Regions from separate parts of the Homo sapiens genome. Here region 2 is linked to region 1. The links are contacts of gene promoters, found by promoter capture Hi-C in human tissues and cell types (Jung and others, 2019). All regions are on one chromosome and are shown on one strand. Each heading gives the region's core, a stretch centred on a gene start or on the middle of the fragment in contact. The rest is flanking DNA. Distances are from core to core; before and after follow the strand shown. Region 1 holds the start of SLC5A12 (solute carrier family 5 member 12). Region 2 overlaps BBOX1-AS1 (BBOX1 antisense RNA 1).

Region 1 (4,786 bases), core at 604-3,103:
ATGTAGAAAATAACTGAAAATTAAATTACTGAATTGATGCTGTGCCTTATAATCAACAAAATGTTGAAAGCAAGGAATACTTTCCTAAGAGGCATAAAGGTTTCTTCATATCCCAGGTATTAACCAATCTGCTCCCTACCACTTCAAAATTCAAGACTAATTGGAGTCATGCAGATAATACTGTTACTACACAAAGTTTAATTAAAACCATCAGTACTCATTAACTCTTTTGTTATAGGTTTCTAGTATGTACCTTTAGAAAGTTATTGATGATAATGTTTTGAACCATTCTTAACCTGACTTATACAAGGGGATTACATGTTTTATAGATTGAATATTAACCATTAGGTAGTGTAAATATTAAACTATAAAGGAGTCAAGTTTCTGAAAGCTAAAAAAGTTCTGATTTTCTGCTGAGATCACAACAAAAACCTCATATATAATTGGAATACTTCATGATACAAATAATTAAAAGCCCAGGTTAAGGTAAATATATTAAAGACCAAGATTTGCAGTAACATTTATCATATCAAATCTCCAAATCTAGTGGAGGAATTTAAACAGAGGACACAGACAGCTCTTGGGAGAGTCTTCATATTTTTATTGGTAACTAAAAGCATACTTTAGCTATCTAATTAAACCTTTCTTTGGTCTAATTCAAATTCATGAAGCAAAGATTTATTCAGTTATCCAGATGTGAAAAGCAAAATTAGAGCGTTTTTTGTTTTATTGTTTGGCTGGAAATGTTTCTGTCTTTGGGCATTATGGATAATTTTAGTTTTCTCCTTTCTAAAAATTATTTTTTTTATTTTCTACAATGGCTATAATGTATTGGGTATATGGACTAGAGCTTTGCTTCTGTCTTCAAGGAAATGTCATTTGAACAGCTGACAGACTCCTGTAGCCGGTTACATAGAGATTCCCTAAAATAGGCAAGATGATGGCTGAGTACAAAATGAGTACTAGGGAGGCTACGTTCTACAGGAGTTGACGTGGAGAGGCAGAAAAGCTTCACAGAGTAGAGAAAACTCATACTAGATCTTGTAGAATACACAAGCTTTGTAGAGGTGGGGATGGAGAAGGCCACTGAAGAAGGAGGAGAAGCATGAACAAAATTAGAAATTGCACTAGAGGTACTTTGGAACAATTGACAGAGTCTAAAGAGAGCAGAAACAGGAATTTATAACTGGATTGTTACCTTCCTTCTCTAATTTGTCCTGGTCCTAATTCTAACTTAGCCTGTGGGTACAGTGATAGTAACCTGGTGAAAATAAGAGAAAGACAAGATAAAGTTGAAGGCTATAAATAATTTATTAATTAATGGCAAATTGATTTTTCTAGGTCCTAGAATAAAGAAAGAAAAGCTATGATGTTCCAGAGTGCTCTGCTGTAAGCACAGATAATAGCCAATGGGGTACATATTATTACCTTTCATTTTACAGATCAAGACAAAGAGAGTCAGGAAGTTTAAGACTTAAGTCTTTAAAGACCTTGTAAGGTCTTATTATCCCTGTGTTCCAGGTGAAGTTCAGAAATGTTAAATGATTTATGAAATGTTTCATGGCTTTCTCGTGGTTGAGCCAGGACTCGAGCAAAGGTCTCTGAATTCCTAGTCCTTTGCTTCTTTCTCTCCACATCCACTGCCTCAGACAATTGCAGGCACACAGCCTTCACTCTCCCTTCTTCAAGAGGAAGACACTGCTGAGGATTGTGTTTGCATTTTACAGATTCCATCTCACGAATTAAAAATGCTGAGGTGGTAAATTGTTATCAATTCTATGTTTCCCAGAAATGTTTAACCTTAAGTTAAAAAAAATCTAAGAGATAAAACAGCATGTTATCTGGCCAGTCCATTCCACCCCCAGTGGTTATTAATTTCAGAACACATCTGAATTCCTTCTCTGTGGCATATGCTTTAGGAGAGGAGCAGACAGCTCTTAGCTAGGGTCAGATTTCAAATTCTCATCTCTTGGTGCCAATACCACCACCAGATTCTTCTTTGAAGTCAACTTTTGAGATCTTCACTAAGTACACGTTGGTGTCTGAAGATTCACACGAGTGCCTCTGGTAATCATTTTCTTCAGGGAATCACAGTCTCTCCTCTCAGCAAAGCATCCACTGTACTGAACTTTGCTTTTGGAAACATCTTCTTCCTGAGACCTCGTTGAAAGAAACTCTCTGGTGTCATACTTTCCAATATGGAGGTGAAGAACTTTGCAGTTTGGGATTATGTTGTATTTGCAGCCCTCTTTTTCATTTCCTCTGGAATTGGGGTGTTCTTTGCCATTAAGGAGAGAAAAAAGGCAACTTCCCGAGAGTTCCTGGTTGGGGGAAGGCAAATGAGCTTTGGCCCTGTCGGCTTGTCTCTGACAGCCAGCTTCATGTCAGCTGTCACGGTCCTGGGGACCCCTTCTGAAGTCTACCGCTTTGGGGCATCCTTCCTAGTCTTCTTCATTGCTTACCTATTTGTCATCCTCTTAACATCAGAGCTCTTTCTCCCTGTGTTCTACAGATCTGGTATCACCAGCACTTATGAGGTAAGATGATTTCTCCATTCTTCTCTAATTTTTTTTTCTCATCCTCTTGATGATAGCACCTGGTAGTTGAAGAACACTCACTGATTTTCAGGATAATTACACATTATGAGAAAGACATTAAAATGTTTTTGTAAAAAGCCTAAGCTTTGGAGACAGACATATCTATTTTCCCATCTGTAGAAGGAAAATAATGATGACAATCCCACAGGGCTATTTTAATGATCAAATGAGAACCTCTATGTGAGCACTTAATGTATGGCCTCATTTGTAGGAGGTTTGCAATAAAGAGGGCTGATGTTATTTTTTATTATTGTGAACGTCATCATTCTGAAAAGCAAACAGAACATTTCTCATGAGTACGGCAATTTTCCAGCTAAGAAAACTGAGATACAGATAAATGACTTAGTTAAGATTTTTGAATAGTAAAGTGACCTGAGAACCTAATTTTTTCTGTATCTCTACTTAGTGGCCTTTCCGTCAGAGAGTAGAGGGCATTTTAATACAAATTATAATAAGACTAATTTTTAATGAGGAAATGGAAACATTTTTGAAAAGTACAAAACATTTTAACGAAAGGAATTGCTAAATAATACAAATATGGGAATTATTTAATGTGAGGGAAATGAGGCAGTGGTGTTTTGGCTTTACAATGATTCTCAATGAAGACATCATGTTCAAAATTGAATTTGCATGCTCTATATAGAAATGTGATCAAACATAAGTTTCTATTAATAAGGTATTTATTTTCATTATCCAATATCATTCCTAAAGTCACTGCAGGAGACTGAAAAGAGACCTATTTTTTTTTAAATATGTAAGCTATATGAGTATAAAACATTATTCTAGCCTTCAAAAGTCACTCAGGCAAATGAACACTTTTTAGGAAGTCTTAAAAAGTGTTATTGATTCCATAGTTTTATGTAATGTAATTTTTATGACTATTCACTCAGTAAATACTCATTAAGCATCTACTCTTAAGATACTTAAAAAGGCACTCTTCTTTTTTTCCATGTATTTATTTACTTATTTATTTATTTATTTATTTATTTATGAGATGGGGCTTTTGCTATGTTTCCCAGGCCGTTCTCAAACTCCTGGGCTCAAGTGATTCTCCTGAATCAACCTCCCAAGTAGCTGGGACTACAGAAGTTTGCCACCACACCCAGCTTGTTCTAGGCATTCTCGTAGCCCTAGGCATAAAGCATTGCACCAAGTTCCTGCTGTCATGGAGCTTACTTCATAGCAGAGAAGGGCAGTCAATAAACATATACTGTGTAAGAAAATCATAATACAAATATATATGGTATTTAACTATGTGCTAAGTACTTCTCTAAGTTCCTTATGTGTGTTAAGTCTTTTGGCCTTAAAACAATCTTTTTTAGACAGGTACTGTCACCTCCTTTTAACAGACTAGAAAACTGAGGCATATAGAATTAAGTAACTTGCTAAGTGACATAAAGCTAGCAAGTAACAGTTTTTCAAACCAGGCAGTCTAACTTTAGATATCATATGCTAAATAACTATGCTGTCCTGTCCTACAAAAACAAATGGAGAAAAAGTAAAGTAAATAGGATGAGATAGAGAGGAGGAATGCTGGTATGAGTAGAGAATGTCCATATTCATAGAGGGTGATCATATGAAACTTCAAGTAAAATAAGACGTCTAAATGGAGACTGGAAGAAAGCAAATAATTGCACCAGACAAGGGAAGTGCATCTCAGGCTGAAGTAGTCACAGATGCAAAGGCCCTAGAAAAGGAGTGTGACTGGCATGTTGAAGGACAGCAAAGAAATCAGTGTGCTTGGAGAGGAGAGAGCAAAGGGGACAATGGTAAAAGATAAGATCAAAGAGATGGGAGTGCCCAGTTATATACAGCAGGGGTCTCAGTGGAGCTAGTGCCACACAGAGGGAGCACTTGGGATATTTGTAGGATATTTGGTTGTCACAATGATTAGGAGTCACTACTGATGTTTAGGGAGTTGAGGGCAGAGACATCAGATGTCTTTCAGTGTGTAAAGGCACATATACAATGAGTAATTTCACTCTGCACTGCATGATATTTTAATGCCGTAATGCTCAAAAACTACTGCACATATTAGTATTACCTTAGTGCACAGTAACTTTACAATAAAAAGTTATACACACACTATAAATTAGCACATTTTCCAGAAATTAAATGAAATAAAAACACTGTCTTAAAATTATTGAACAATTTACTTACTTTGAACAATCTGTCTATTCCATATGTGC
Region 2 (5,165 bases), core at 225-2,724, 430 kb before region 1:
TGACAGTTTTGGGGCAAGGGACTGTGTTAGTTTTCTATTAGCTGCAGTAACCACTTATCGCAGATTTATTATCCTGTAGTTCTGGAGGTCAAATATCTGAAATGCGTCTTACAAGGGCTAAAATCAAGATATCAGCCGGGTGCATTCCTTCTGGAGATTCTAGGGGAGAATATATTTCTTGCCTTTTTTAGCTTCTAGAGACCACTTACATTCCTTGGCTCATGACTTCCTTCTCCACCTTCAAGTCCAGCCATACAGCATCTTCAAATCTCCCCCCTGACCCCATCCCCTCTTACCTTTGCTTCTCTTTGACTCTCCTGTATCACTCTAATAAGGACCTTTGTGATTATATTGGGCCTGTTTGGATTATACGGGATACTGTCCCCATGTGAAAATCCTTAACTTTATTGTAGCTGCAAAGTCCTTTCGGCCATGTAAGACAACACATTCACAGATTCAGGGGATAAGGATGTGGATATCCTTGAGGGACATTACTCAGCTTACCACAAGAGCTGTTCATTCCCTGTTACTTCAGCAGATTTGTCCTTGTAGGAGAGCCCACACTGAAGAAGTTCTTCAGCTCCTGGTAGGAGCTGGAGGCAGGCACTGGCTTGTGGTTTCATTAAAAATAATGAGTGATTGAGCCAGCTGCTTTAGGACTAGCTTGTAACTCCACTTCCTCTTGGAAGTTTCAGCAGCTTAAGCCCCTAACTGCTTAGGCAGGAAAGAGCTGAGGGTTGGCCAAAAATGTTACAGTACTAGACATGAGCAAATTCATTGAGCAAATTTATACTCAGTACTTGGTGGGTAGTGAATATTGTGCAGGACAGTAGAGACTCATTGGTGAATAAGATTGGTTGCTTTCAGATATTAATTTTATTTATGTGCTATCTCCCCTTTTGTAGTAGAATCTAAGCTACATTAGAGAACATATTTTGTCTTAATCACTACTAAGTCCTGATGGCTGCTTTTCACGGATTTTGATGGTAAATTCTCAGTAAATTTTTGCTGGTTTAGTAAAAGATATGATCTCTGACCTCAGTGAGCTTATAATTTAATACATTGGACTAGAAGTTGGCTAATTACGGCCCTTGGGCCAAATCTGCCCCACTGCTTGTTTTTGCAAATAAAGTTTTATTGGAACTCTGATGTGCCCATTCATTTACATATTGTCTTTGGCTGTTTTGTCGTATAATGGTAGAGTTGAGTGGCTGTGCCAGACTGTATTGGTCACAATTTGGGGTTAAATATTTACTGTCTGGCCCTTTACAGAAAAAGTTTACTATCACCTGGGCTGACAATGGTAGCCAAAAATGGCAACAAAAAATGGTAGCTACATTGAGCATAATAAGATCCACGATAGGATGCCTTAGGAGCTCATGAGACAGACAACACTTTCATTATTCTTGGAGCTTCCCATGCTCCTAAGTTCACACATTTAGAGAGACCCTTTAGCGCATCAATCATCTGACCACAGTGGTTGTCATGGAGAGCCCATTGTTCCAGCCTTCATATCCTTTTGGTTCCTGCAGGTTTGTGGCTTTGTAGTCACCTATGAGACTCTTTGTTGAAGTGGGAACTCTAGTGTCTAGGATCTAGATTCTCTGGGTGGACCATTCCGCCTTTTATTCTGAGGCTTCTCTACCTTTCTACTGCACTGTTCGAGGTGTAGCGTTTAGATTCCTACTGTGCATACATTTTTCTATTTCACCCCCAATGCCCTACAATTGTTTCCTATGACCTCATCAGTTCTGTCTCCTCATCTTCCAGGTGATCTAATGTAATCTAAGTACTGTCTACTCTTCAAAAGATGTAGACATTTATAAAAGACCCCAGTTTCTAATTTTCTCCCATCAGAATCTCTAGGGCAAAGAACTGCAAGTCTTGGTTACCAGTTTGGAAGCAGCATTAGATGGTAAAGGAGATAACAAACAAAAATGGTATTTTAGGAAATTATCTCTCCTGCTTTGCATTGAATTATATCCTGAAGGCAACACATTTTAAATAAGAGAGTGGTTTTAAGGAAGAGAGTGGCAAGATCAACTCCCAGGATAACATTTAATATTTAGCAGGTGGTATGTATTTTAACCACACAGACTTAAACAATTGTGTGGCAATATGGGTACTTACTGGCTATGGATCAGTAGGATTTGCATTTTGGAAGTTGATCTGGCTGTCAAGGGCAGAATGGATGGGAGGCATTCCCATAAGATTAGAGGGAGGCTAGGGAGGAGGGTATTATACTAGTCTAGGGAAGAGATAGTAGGATCTCTACTTGGAAAATGACTGTGGGAATGGAGTAGGGTACGCAGAATCTAGTACCATTGTATATATGAAACCAAAGGGATTTGGTGAGTGGATATCTAGAGTGGGGAACTGGAAGAAGTGTGGATTGCTCATAGGTTACTGACTTCAGCAATGGGATGGATAGTGGAACTCTTAGGAGACAGGATGAAGAAGTAAGTGTCGAGTATGTTAGGAAGATGTAAAATTAACTTTGGTTGGGGGATTGGACCTTCTGCTTTACCTCTGGAATCTTCCCTTTCATTGCTTAGTGATATGGTTTGGATATGTGTCCCCACTCAAATCTCATGTTCAATTGTAATCCCCAATGTTGGAGGTGGGGCCTGGTGGGAAGTGATTTGATTATGGGGGCAGATTTCTTCCTTGGTACTGTCGTTTTAATAGTGAGTGAGTTCTTGTGAGATATGGTTGTTTAAAAGTGTGTAACAACTCCTTTTTCTTTCTCTTCCTCCTGCTCCAGCCATGTGAAGTGCTCACTCCCCCTTTGCCTTCTGCCATGATTGTGTGTTTCCTGAGGCCTCCCCAGAAGCTGAGAAGATGCTTCCTGTACAGCCTGCAGAACTGTGAGCCAACTAAACCTCTTCTCTTTATAAATTACCCAGTCTCTGATATTTCTTTATAGCAGTGTAACAATTGACTAATACAGAAAATTGGTGCTAAGGAGTGGGGCATTTCTATAAAGATACCTGAAAATGTGCAAGCAGCTTTGGAACTCGGTAATAGGCAGAAGCTGAAACAGTTTGGAGGGCTCAGAAGAAGACAGGAAGATGAGGGAAAGTGTGGAACTACCTAGAGACTTGTTGAATGGTTGTGACCAAAATGCTGATAGTGATGTGGACAATGAAGTCCATCTAGGCTGAGGAGATCTCAGATGGAAATGAGGAACTTACTGAGAACTAGAGTAAAGCTCACTTTTGCTGTACTTTAGCAAAGAGCCTGGCTATATTGTGCCCTTGCTCTAGGGATCAGTGGAACTTTGAACTTGAGAGAGATGATTTAGGGTAACTGGTGGAAGAAATTTTTAAGGAGCAAAGGTGTTTAAGATATGGGTTGGCTGCTTCTAGCAACCTTTCCTCATATGTGTAAGCAAAGATATGGTCTGAAACTGGAACTTGTATTTAAAAGGGAGGAAGAGCATAAAAGTTTGAAAAATTTGCAGCCTGGCCATGTGGTAGAAAAGAAGAGCCCATTTTTAGGGGAGGAATTCAAACAGGCTGCAGAAATTTGCATAAGTAAAGAGGAGCCAAATGCTAATAGCCAAGACAACTGGGAAAAAGTCTTGAAGGCATTTCAGAGACCTTCTTCGCAGCCCCTCCCATCACACGCCCAGAGGCCTCTGAGGGAAGAATGGTTTTGTAGGCCAGACCCAAGACTTACTGCAATGCACAGCCTCAGAACCCTGCTTCCTGTGTCCCAGAAGCTCTAGCTTCAGCCATGGCTAAAAGGGGCCCATGTAAACCTTGGGCTGCTGCTCTGGAGGGTGCAAGCTATAAGCCTTGGCTGTTTCCACATGGTGTTAAGCCTGTGGGCACACAGAATGCAAGAATTGAGACTTGGGAGCCTCTACCTAGATTTCAGAGAATGTATGGAAATGCATGGATGTACAGGCAGAAGCCTGAATGAGAGGTAGAACCCTCATGGAGAACCTCTACTAGGGTAGTGCAGAGGGGAAGTGTGGGGTTGAAGCCCGCACGCAGAGTCCCCACTGAGGCACTGCCTAGTGGATCTGTGAGAAGAGGGTCATCGTCCTCCAGCCCCCAGAATGATAAAGCATGGTAGAGCCACCAGCAGCTTGTACCCTCGGTCTGAAAAAGCCATAGCCACTCAACACTAGCCCTTGAGAGCTGCTGCAGGGGCTAAATCCTGCAAAGCCACAGGGCAGGACTGCCCAAGGCCTTGGAAGCCCACCCCTTGCCACAGTGTGCCCGGGATGAGACGTGGAGTCAAAAGAAATTATTTTGGAGCTTTAAGATTTAATGACTGCCCTGCTTGGTTTCAGGCTACATGGGGCCAGGAGCCCTCCTCTTTTTTTTTTTTTTTAATTTTTTGGCTGATCTCTCCCTTTTGGAATGAGAATATTTACCCAATGCCGATACTCGCATTTTACCTTGGGGGGTAATTAACTTGTTTTTGATTTTACAGGCTTAGAAGTGGAAGTGACTTGCTTTGTCTCAGATGAGACTTTGAACTTTGGACTTTTGATTTAATGCTTAAAGAAGTTAAGACTGTGGGGGACTGTTGAGAAGGGATTTTGAAAAGTGAGAAGGACATGAGTTTAGGGAGGGGCCAGGGGCAGAATGATATGGTTTGGATATATGTCCCTGCCCAAATCTCATGTTCAATTGTAATCTCCAGTGTTGGAGGTGGGGCCGGGTGTGAGGTGATTGGATCACGGAGGCAGATTTCTCCGAGGGTACTGTTGTCACAAGAGTGAGTGAGTTCTCATGAGATCTGGTTGTTTAAAAGTGTGTAGCACATCCCCTGTTGCTTTCTTTCTCCTGCTCTGGCCATGTGAAGTGCTTGCTCCCCCTTTGACTTCTGCAATGATTTTAAGTTTCCTGAGGCTTCCTCAGAAGCCAAGCAGGTGCCAGCATCATGCTTTCTGTACAGCCTGTAGAACCATGAGCCAATTAAACCTCTTTTCTTTATAAATTATCCAGTCTCAGGTATTTCTTTATAGCAGTGCAAGAACTGACTAATACACTTAGTAAATGCCTTAGCTATCCCAGGAAAGAGAAGTCCCTTTATACAGAAATGGCCAACAATCCCTGCATCAAGAGAACTGTCCTGTTTTATGCAAACCAAGCTCAGGGATCTTGGAGGGTTGCATATTGTGATGGAGACATAACTGTTTTTCTAAG

The links. Contacts are between HindIII fragments. The study calls those that stand out against the background at their distance.
Region 2: a fragment that was not itself captured here is called in contact with the fragment with the promoter of SLC5A12 in region 1 in 2 of the 25 tissues and cell types used here (H1 embryonic stem cells and mesenchymal stem cells).

Annotation. Positions count from the first base shown.
Region 1 is chr11:26,719,127-26,723,912 of GRCh38, reverse strand. It overlaps SLC5A12 (solute carrier family 5 member 12), which reads left to right and starts at 1,853. Exons shown (of 15, transcript NM_178498.4): 1 at 1,853-2,537. The coding sequence starts at 2,199. The HindIII fragment of the contact is 6,083 bases long and covers 1-1,869 here.
Region 2 is chr11:27,148,752-27,153,916 of GRCh38, reverse strand. BBOX1-AS1 (BBOX1 antisense RNA 1) reads left to right here. Exons shown (of 4, transcript NR_125768.1): 3 at 2,765-2,867. Among named protein-coding and RNA genes, the nearest start is that of BBOX1-AS1, 67 kb to the left of the region's middle. The HindIII fragment of the contact is 4,760 bases long and covers 1-3,854 here.